Linked DNA regions of Homo sapiens: regions 2 and 3 are each linked to region 1. The links are contacts of gene promoters, found by promoter capture Hi-C in blood cells and fetal thymus (Javierre and others, 2016). All regions are on one chromosome and are shown on one strand. The core of a region is centred on a gene start or on the middle of the fragment in contact, and the rest is flanking DNA. Distances in the headings are between cores, read along the strand shown. Region 1 holds the start of NINJ2-AS1 (NINJ2 antisense RNA 1). Region 2 overlaps WNK1 (WNK lysine deficient protein kinase 1). Region 3 overlaps WNK1 (WNK lysine deficient protein kinase 1).

Region 1 (3,378 bases), core at 616-3,115:
TGAAAACTGGGGGACATTGCAGTTGACCTTTAGAACCCTCTCTCCACCCCCACCCCCATCTCCATTACCCCAGAGCTAAGCCTCCTCAGGACCTAGTACTTCTCTTCATTCAGTGTTTTCTCACACTGCTGAAAATTACCTGTGACTCATACAAGTGGTTCAAGCTGCTCAGTCCCAGACAGGAATGTTGAGTCTTGCCAGCTGACATGTTGGGGTCACAAGAAAGAGAGAGCAAGTGTCCTGTGGGCTGGAATCAGGGGAGATGCACAGACACCCTGTGAACATTCCAGAGTGCAGGGCTGAAGAATGGCCTGAATGGAGCCGTTAGGCTGATTTCCCTGTGGTCAGAGGCTAGCTGCAATTTTACCCTCCCTTCCCTGCCCAAACACTCCTGACACTGGAATTTCATCAAACGGCTACCGTGTTTGGTTTTCAACCAGGACAAACAAAGAAAAGAGATTTGTTTTCCTGTCTGCTTTTGCTGAATGGAATCTCTGATTCTACTTACCAGCGTGCCTCAGACACCCTGGGGCTGGTTAGGACTTTAAGCACACAGGAATCTCAGCTTTACTCAATCTTTTTCCATATCCTGAGCCCGAGTTCAGACTTCATCCTCCCGGGTCCCCCATGTCCCTTCAACGTCTGATTAATTCTCCAGTCAACTCCCTGCTAATAGTCCACCCACAAATTGCTATTTCAGCTGACCTTCCCCAAAACTTGAGCATCCTTACCAAATACCTTGGGCTTCCTCATAACCTGGTTATCTTCTCATCTGCATGCCTTTCTGGAATAATTTTGAAGTATTAAAAAAAACTCCTCTAATTGTCAAGGGCATGCAGGAAGCTCAGCCCCTAAGGAGCATTGCAGAAATCTGGAGTTCTACTCTGTTTATACCTAAATCTAGCCTTCCAGGAGTTTCAGATAGTTTCCTGGAAACATTTTGTGCTTTGTGTTTTTCACCTTTCTCTCTTAATTGAATATGGGGTGAGGAGCAAGAAAGGGGATTGTGAATTACAATTACAAACAGTACACACATAACACAGGGACAATCTTTGCATTTCTCATTTCTGATCCCAGGGATCAGAGGTAGAGGCAGGCCAGGCGCGGTGGCTCACGCCTGTAATCCCAGCACTTTGGAGGCCGAGGCAGGCGGATCACGAGGTCAAGAGATAGAAACCATCCTGGCCAACATGGTGAAACCCCGTCTGTACTAAAAATATAAAAATTAGCTGGGCGTGGTGGCGCGCGCCTGTACTCCCAGCTACTCGGGAGGCTGAGGCAGCAGAATCGCTTGAGCCCGGGAGGCGGAGGTTGCATTGAGCAGAGATCACGCCACTGCACTCCCGCCTGGTGACAGAGGGAGACTCCGTCTCAAAATAAATAAATAAATAAATAAAAATTTAACAAAAAAAGGTAGAGGCAGCTCTCAGGTGAGTAAATTCGCAGATGCCCACGCATGTCTGGAACATACCCCAGGGGTCATTAGAGACTGCCCAGCAGAGGCGGGAGGATCTTCCGTTTGCTTTTCCTTCAGAACGTTTGTCCGGAGAGCATCCTGTTCTGTTATATGCATATCCACCTCCGTCTCCAAATTACTAGGTTGAGCACAGTGCTCAGTGCCTGGCATTGAGTTAGAAATAGAAAATGAGCTGGCGAGTCCCGGCCCGAGGCTGTGACAGGGGCCATTACTGAGCCCACTCCCCACCAACCTTTCTGCGGTTTAACTGACTCTCCTCCTTCCCCTCCAGATCCCAAGGGCTTGACTCCTACCTCCTCTAAGGCATTTTGAAAAGTTTGCAAATGCACCCTTGATCCTAGCACGTACTTAAGAAGCGGCTCCCCCCTAGAACGTCAGGCTTGAAGCTGACCCCTTCTTCCTCCTCCCGCGCCATTTGGGTCTGTGCGCAGGGCCGGAAGCCTGCTGGGGAGGGGCACGAGGCCGGGCTGGGGCCTCTCCGGAGGGAGCCCGCCGCCCCGCCCAGGGCGCACGCACCCAGCCTCTGAGGGAGGAAGCTGAATGGGGCCAGAGGCTGGCCCTCTTTGGGGATTTGCATTATACAGGCTGTATTTAGAAGCAGCGGCGGGGAGCGGTGGCTCACGCCTGTGATCCCAGCATTTTGGGGGGCCGAGGCGGGCAGATCACCTGAGGCCAGGAGTTCGAGACCAGCCTGTCAACATGGTGAAACTCCGTCTGTGCTAAAAATACAAAAAAAATTAGCCAGGCGTGGTGGCCGGAGCCTGCAGTCCCAGCTACTCGGGAGGCTGAGGCAGGAGAATCGCTTGAACCCGGGAGATGGAGCTTGCAGTGAGCCGAGATCACACCACTGCACTCCAGCCTGGGCAACTCAGCGAGACTCCGTCTCAAAAAACAAAACAAAACAAAACAAAACAAAAAACCAAGAAAAAGAGAATAAAAAAAAATAGAAGCAGCTTTCTTGCTGATAGAAAGCAATGACCCTCTCTGCTATAATTACAACTGAAGAGTCACTTTCTTTCAAAAACTCTATTTTCAGATGTTTACCACTTTCTTTAAAAAGGAAAAAAAATTTGCCTCAAAGGCAGGCAGTCCCCAGGGCATTTCTGGTCTCCTGGGGAAGGAACCTAAGAGCGGTTTGGTAAAATTCCATTTTGCTATCTTGGCGTTACCTAAGGGCAAGAACTGAGGTGGGGCTTTGGTGACAGCAGGGGCTGAAGAGTGCTCTTTTTCATCATCCAGGGTGTCCAATTGTTTTGTTTCCCTGGGCCACATTGGAAGAATTGTCTTGCCCCACACATAAAATACAGCAACACTAACAATGGCTGATACACTTTTAAAAAATCGCAAAGAAACTTCATATATATATATATATATATATATATTTTTTTTTTTTTTTTGAGTTTTGCTCTTGTCGCCGAGGCTGGAGTGCAACGGCACGATCTCGGCTCACCACAACCTCTGCCTCCCAGGTTCAAGTGATTCTCCTGCCTCAGTCTCCTGAGTAGCTGGGATTACAGGCATGCGCCACCAGGCCTGGTTAATTTTGCATTTTTAGTAGAGACGAGGTTTCTCCATGTTGGTCAGGCTGGTCTCAAACTCCTGACCTCAGGTGATCCACCTGCCTCGGCCTCCCAAAGTGCTGGGATTACAGGCGTGAGCCACCATGCCCAACCAAGAACTCATAATGTTTTAAGACAATTTACGAATTTGTTTTGGGCCGCGTTCAAAGCCGTCCTGGGCTGCACGGGGCCCACAGGCTGTGGGTTGGACAAGCTTGCTGGACTGTCATGAAGTTTTGAGTAGGTTAATTGCGTGGAGAGACCTGGAAGACAGGATCCTGGGTTGTACTGTACTCTCCCCGCCATTGGACCTGTGCTCCCTCCACCCAGGTGGCATCGCAG
Region 2 (3,378 bases), core at 377-2,876, 180 kb before region 1:
GGTTCTTCTCTGAGTAAAAACAGATCCTCTAAGATACCAGGGGTCCCCAACCACTGAGCCACAGATCAATATCAGTCCATGGCCTTTTAGGAACCTGGCCACACAGCAGGAGGTGAGTGGCAGGCGAGCAAGCAAAGCTTCATCTGTATTTACAGCCGCTCCCTCACTGCTCGCATTACCACCTGAGCTCTGGCTCCTGTCAGCAGCATTAGATTTCTCACAGGGCCATGAACCCTACTGTGAACTGTGCATGCAAGGGATCTAGGTTGAGCGTTCGTTATGAGAATCTAATGCCTGATGATCTGCCCTGTCTCCCATCACCCCCAGATGGGACAGTTGAGTTGCAGGAAAACAAGCTCAGGGCTCCCACTGATTCTACATTATGGTGAGTTGTATAACTATTTCATTATATATTTTAATGTAATAATAATAGAAATAGAGTGCACAATAAATGTAATGTGCTTGAATCATTCCAAACTTCCCCAGCCCCACCCCCGCACCAGTTCATGGAAAAACTGTCTTCCATGAAACCAATCCCTGATGCCAAAAAGGTTGGGGACTGCTGCTCTAAGAAACCTGGGATTACAAAGGCATACTCCAACACTTACCAAAAGCTCTTTACAATAAGTAACGGGAAATTTCTGCATTAAACCTATTTCTGTGAAAGGAATGATAGATCTAGCTATTTGGGGATTAATTTCTGATGTTATGGGAAATGGAACTAAAAGTATTTTTTAAGTGATAACTGTCACAATATAATCTGCATCTGATATAAAAGTTGCAGGGATATAGCAAAGCACAATACAAATGAAAAAAATAGGTAGTTTCTCAATAAACCTTAATCTCATTTTAACCACTAGAGGGCTACCTTGACATTTGATTTCTGATTCCTTAGCCACTCTTTTTTTTTTTTTTTGGAGACAGAGTCTCACCTAGGCTGGAATGAAGTGAGGTGATCTCAGCTCACTGCAACCTCCGCCTCCTAGGTTCAAGCGATTCTCCTGCCTCAGCCTCCCAAGTAGCTGGGGTTACAGGTGCACGCCACCATGCCCGGCTAATTTTTGTACTTTTAGTAGAGACGGGGTTTCACCACGTTGGCCAGGCTGGTCTCGAACTCCTGACCTCAGGTGATCCAACCTCAGGTGATCCGCCTGCCCCGGCCTCCCAAAGTGCTGGGATTACAGGCATGAGCCACCACACTCGGCCATAACTTCTCATTTCAATACTTACCAAGAAATAATTATCAAATCACTTTATATACTAGAGGACTTTGTGGGCAAGGAAATATGCTAATACAGTAACAGTTGGAAGGACTGTTCCCTTCTTAGGCTGAACAACCAAAGTGAAACTGGTAGACCTGAAATTTAAAAAATCAAATTCTCTCATACTTCTTGGTCAGCTTTTGTAATACTGATGAACTTACGTTTTAAGTGTTCCAGACGTCATAAGTTCAGTCACCAAAACAATGCACTTCTTTCCTTTTACTGTGGATTCCCAGGAATCATAAAATCTAACAATATTGGGATGCTGAAGACCTTTTAACATTTCAGCTTCTTCTTTAAATCTCTGCCTCTCAGACTTTGTTAATTTTCGATCCTAAAATCAAAAACCAAAACAGAATGTGGTTTAAAATGATAAAACACCAAATCAGACAGTTAATCTTAGACACTTAAACATTACTAAATCATGATCGATGGTGTTTAAAAAATGCAAATGCTGAAGTTATAAATGATAGATTTGGATTATATACATTCATGCTTGAGATCATTTTAGTATCTTTACTGTTAATGTGTAACTCAGATATAGTCTCATTTTTGTAAGGTGCAGTTAACTTTCCATATCCAACATAAGTCATCAATTGCTAGACATGCAATTTAATGTCAGGAAATGAACATAGGCTTTGGAGGCAAAGACCTAAATATAAATTCCAGTTCTATCTTTGCCTTGATTAAAATCAATCTATCTTTAACCAAAACATTGTTTTTATTTTTGTTTGTTTGTTTAAAAGACAGGAAGTCACTCTGTGACCAAGGCTGGAATGCAGCGGTGCTATCATAGCTCACTGCAGCCTCAAATCCTGGGCTCAAGGGATCCTCCCACCTCAGCCTCCAGAGTAGCTAGGACTACAGGCATGTGCCACCTTGCCCGGCTAATTTTTTAATTTTTTGTAGAGATGAGGTCTTGCTATGATGCACTGGCTGGTCTTGAACTTCTGGTGATCCTCCTACTTTGGCATCCCAAAGCCTGGGATTACAGGTGTGAGCCACTGCATGAAGCCTAATTTTTTTTTTCTTTTAAGCAATAACTTAAATACTCAAGTATTTGTCTTCAAGTCAGGAAAATTCTCAGTATCTCTCTAAACACTGTCTCCTCTCATTCTCTTTTTTTCCCCTTCCAACTCTTCTTTTCTTTTTAAACAATTTTTAAATGTGTGTGAGTATGTGTATAACTTTAGTTTATCCTTAATATCCTTTAATTTCTCTCTCATTTTCCATTTCCTTCTGTATGCTACTTTCTGGGCAATGTTTTCTGATCTACCTTCCTGTTCATTAATTTTTCTCTTCAGTTATTACATCAATTATTAATTGAACTTTAAGGTTCTCACTCTGTCGCCAAAAGTACCCAATAAGGAATGTAATAAAAGGAAACCAAGTTACTACTCCTGTTTCTACTCTGCCCAATAGCATTAAAACCAATGGATACTATGTACATGCCTCTTACATAACACTTAATCACAGGCAACATTATATTGACTCTTATCCCCCATAGAATAAGCCCTCAGAGGCTTTTTGTCATGAAAAGGCAGTGACAAGATACCTTTTTGTGTTCTATCTTTAGCACCTGACAACCTAGCATAGTGACTTGTTCAACAGCCATTTGTTGAATGAATTCCATAAATGTCTTTTCCCCTCAATACCCCTTTAAAAGTGTGTGTGTGTGTCCTTAATAAGCAGTTAGCATTTCCCCAAGGATAAAAAATTCCTGTGACTTAAAAGAAAAATGAGAATTGAAATTGGGCCTCTGAGTCTCAGTTAAGTCCAACACAACCCATACAGAATGATCAACTTGCAAAGGTCCCAGCTTTTGATTTTTAAAAATGGTTTGTAAAAGCTTATTGTAAAAAAGCTGCCAACTACTTATTTATAGCAAAGCATAGAGGGAAAAAAACGGGGGACTTCTTTGCCATCAAAAATCCGTATTTAATTTTCCTTGAGAATACACTGAATGACAATCTAAAAATTCCATAGAAATATTTAGAATATTTTATCTCTAATTTGCCCAGAAGACATCTATACTATAAATACAGGCTACTTTATATAGCTAAGTGTTTTTATCCTTTCTGAAAAGTATTATTTATTTTAAGGGATCTGAGAACCC
Region 3 (3,378 bases), core at 602-3,101, 160 kb before region 1:
AATAAAAAATAAAAACATGAAAAGATAAAAAGAAATCACTTTCTCCAAAAAGTCATTTCCTTCTATTCTACTATAGCCCCAACCCTCAAGACTATCTTACTTCCCCATCTCGCAAGAGTGAGTTAAGTAGCAGGCACTGTTGGCAGTCTACTACTGGGTCATTCCCAAACCCCCTCCTCCTTGCTAACCATAATCCTTTATTTGGTTTAAGTATCTATCTTGTACTAGAGGAAAAGCAAGCCCCATCTCCTGTCAAGACAGTCATAACTGGCCTAACCCAATCATGGAAGTTCCATTTTCAGTATTTGATCTAGACAAAGCCATGTGACCCACAACTCTGACCAGTAAGATATGAAGCATTGTTAAAGAAATTGCTGCTTCTGCTGCTGAATGCTATCCAGGATGCATGTGATGGCTGAAAATAGGGCCATAAGGGGCATTAGCCTGAAATACATGCTGAGAATGGCAGAGAGACATTTGATGACATAACTGAATCAATCTGACACTGCCTTACCATCTATGAAATATTATAAAAACATCCTGAAAACTCTATGCTTTCAGAAGTTCTTTAAAAAACTTAGCCTGGCGTTTGGTGGCATACACCTGTAGTCTCAGCTACTCAGTGGGAGGACTGCTTGAGCCCAGGAGTTTGAGGCTGCAGTGAGTATTGAATCACTGCATTCCAGTCTGAGTGACAGAGCGAGACTCTGTCTCAAAAAAAAAAAAAAAAAAAAGGAGTATAACCACACAGTTTCTACTAGGACACTGAACAGAGAACAAAGGACTAATAATACAGGTATACAGGTAGAACTGGGGACAAAATCTAAATTTTATGACTAGCAGTGTGTACCATTTATTAGTATACTACCATACTATGCTAAGTAAAAGTTATTCTTTCATTTTAACAGCAAAGAATTCTGTCTTTTACTTTATTCTTATCTACCTATACATAGTACACTGTTAAGCTTCTCACTGAAGCACTAGAATGGAAAATCATTGGGGTTTTGTACTTCAGACTGTAACTTTTACCAAATGTATGATTCTTTATCATAAATCAGGAGCCCTGTTTGGTGCCATCAACAAACAACTACTTTCTCTGAAAATTATGGGCTAAGAATCTTACCTCTCCACTTCCCAATCTGTATCTGTTCTAGTTTCTACCCTTTCCTCTACTCCTGATTTCACCAACAAAGATGTAATGTAGCCTCAGTATGTCCTTTCATTATTATGCCTTAATTGAAGGAAGCATGTGGCCTTCACATTTGAGAACCAACTAATAAACCTTCCCACAAAAACTGTTATAAGCAAAGGTTAAAGTCTAAACTATTAATATTACTGGCACCAAACAGATGTTTGCTCACTTACCTTTCTTTTTCCCCCCCGAGACAGAGTCTTGCTCTGTCACCCAGACTGGAGTGTAGTGGCACGATCTCGGCTCACTGCAACCTCCGCCTCCTGGGTTCAAGCAATTCTCCTCCCTCAGCCTCCTGGGTAGCTGGGATTACAGGCAACTGCCACCACGCCCGGCTAATTTTTATATTCTTAGTAGAGACGGGGTTTCACCATTTTGGCCAGGCTTGTCTCAAACACCTGACTTTGTGATCCACTTGCCTCGGCCTCCCAAAGTGCTAGGATTACAGGCGTGAGCCACCTCACCCGGTCCTCTCACTTTCATTTTTAAATATATTTTTCATATGTAACATATTTCAGATATACTGTCTGGGTATCAGCTTTTGCTGGTTATTCTGGGAACAATCATTTCCGGTACTGGCATTACAGGCCTTTCTCACTTAAGTCAACAAACAACTCACAAACTTTTAGAAATATGGTCCATTAGTGCATAAGTTGATCTCATGTTAGCAGAGTATAACTATGAATTATTATTTTACTAAAAATATGGACAATGTTTAATTTCCATATAGTATTACACACAGTAGCTTTTTTTTTAATTTCAAGAAGCTGATATGAAGGACAATCTATTGTGAAATAATATACTCATCTGTGATGGTTAGTTTTATGTTACAATTTTGCCACAGTATTCAATTATTCTATCAAATACTAACTAGGTGTTGCTATAAAGGTATTTTTGTAGATATGGTTAAACCTACAATCAGCTGACTTTATGTAAAGGAGACTACCCTCAATTATGTGGTTGGGTCTCATCTAATCACTTACAAGGCAGTAAACTGGGATTTCCTGAGAAATCCTGGCTAAAGGTGCAGCATCAGCTCCTGTGCTAGAGTTCCCAACCCAATGGCCAGCTCAACCAGAAGACAGATTTCAGACTTGCCAGCCCCAACAACCAAGTAAACTAATTCCTTGAAATTACATATAATATCTATCTGTTATATACAAAATCTCCTAATGGTTTTGTTGCCTTGGAGAAACCTGATACCATTTTTCACACTAAAATTACACACACACGCACACACACACAATGTAAAGCATCCACATATCCATGACAACATCTAAGTTTTTAACATTTTTTTGTTGTGCCTGTCCTGAGATGGTCAAAGAGTGGAAATGCACAGAGGTCCTCAGCCCAGCAGAAGACAGATGGTCTTTACAACAGAGCAGCCTACATACATTAAAGTGTGTAAGAATAAGGAAAACCGACTTACACAAAAGATAAAGATTTTTTTTAAACACACAGAAAGCTAATATAGGTTAAGAACCAGGCAAGCATTAAACACAGGAACCCACAAGAACTACGCTAATAATGTAGTTTCAAGCTTTTGTTAATAACTGACACCTAATAATAGCTAACATTTATTGACTTCCAGACCCTGTTCTGGTGCTTTACATATATTAACATATTTAAACTCAACAACACCTCTGTGAAGTAGGTACCTACGTGGGCTTGGTGGCTCACGCCTGAAATCCTAGCACTTTGGGAGGCTGAGGCAGGAGGATCACTTGAGCCCAGAGTTTCAGATCAGCAACAGTGAGACCCCATCTCTACTTTAACCAAAAAAGAAATGGATGCACAAGAGGATTACAATAAAAAAGTGGCAAAGCCAAGCCAAGGTGTAAACAGAAGCTGCCTTGTTCTAGAGTCTGTGCTTTGCCATTCCACAATACCACCTATAAAAGTAGAGAAATAATTTTATTTTTATAAAGTAGATTTATAGTCTAATATGTAGGTGTTTTAAAAATTAACAATGAAAAATACATAATTTCATTTAAGTCACTTAAATAATGAAAATTACATAAAAGATAGACTACTAGGTGTAAAATGCAAAGAAAATAAATCTATCTAAGAAAGGCAAGGCAGAAATAAAACACATAGAAGGCAGGAAGAAGACCAACTCCAAACATACCAATTAAAACACATAGAAGGCAGGAAGAAGACCAACTCCAAACATACCAATTATTACT

Evidence for each region. The method cuts DNA at HindIII sites, captures the fragments that hold promoters and counts their contacts. A CHiCAGO score of 5 or more calls a contact.
Region 2: a contact is called between a fragment that was not itself captured here and the fragment with the promoter of NINJ2-AS1 in region 1, in 2 of 17 cell types (total CD8 T cells and total B cells). The highest score is 5.6, in total CD8 T cells.
Region 3: a fragment that was not itself captured here is called in contact with the fragment with the promoter of NINJ2-AS1 in region 1 in 2 of 17 cell types (activated CD4 T cells and naive CD4 T cells); the score reaches 5.3 in activated CD4 T cells.

What each region holds. Positions count from the first base shown.
Region 1 is chr12:629,378-632,755 of GRCh38, reverse strand. It overlaps NINJ2-AS1 (NINJ2 antisense RNA 1), which reads right to left and starts at 1,865. Exons shown (of 5, transcript NR_122124.1): 1 at 1,771-1,865; 2 at 509-542; 3 at 140-247. All of the region lies in intron 1 of NINJ2 (ninjurin 2), which reads left to right. RefSeq lists silencers at 1,840-1,939, 2,000-2,079. The HindIII fragment of the contact is 3,290 bases long and covers 1-3,252 here.
Region 2 is chr12:811,860-815,237 of GRCh38, reverse strand. WNK1 (WNK lysine deficient protein kinase 1) reads right to left here. Exons shown (of 28, transcript NM_018979.4): 2 at 1,424-1,596. Among named protein-coding and RNA genes, the nearest start is that of WNK1, 61 kb to the right of the region's middle. The HindIII fragment of the contact is 2,974 bases long and covers 140-3,113 here.
Region 3 is chr12:786,891-790,268 of GRCh38, reverse strand. The region is part of intron 1 of WNK1 (WNK lysine deficient protein kinase 1); the gene reads right to left. Among named protein-coding and RNA genes, the nearest start is that of WNK1, 36 kb to the right of the region's middle. The HindIII fragment of the contact is 1,767 bases long and covers 968-2,734 here.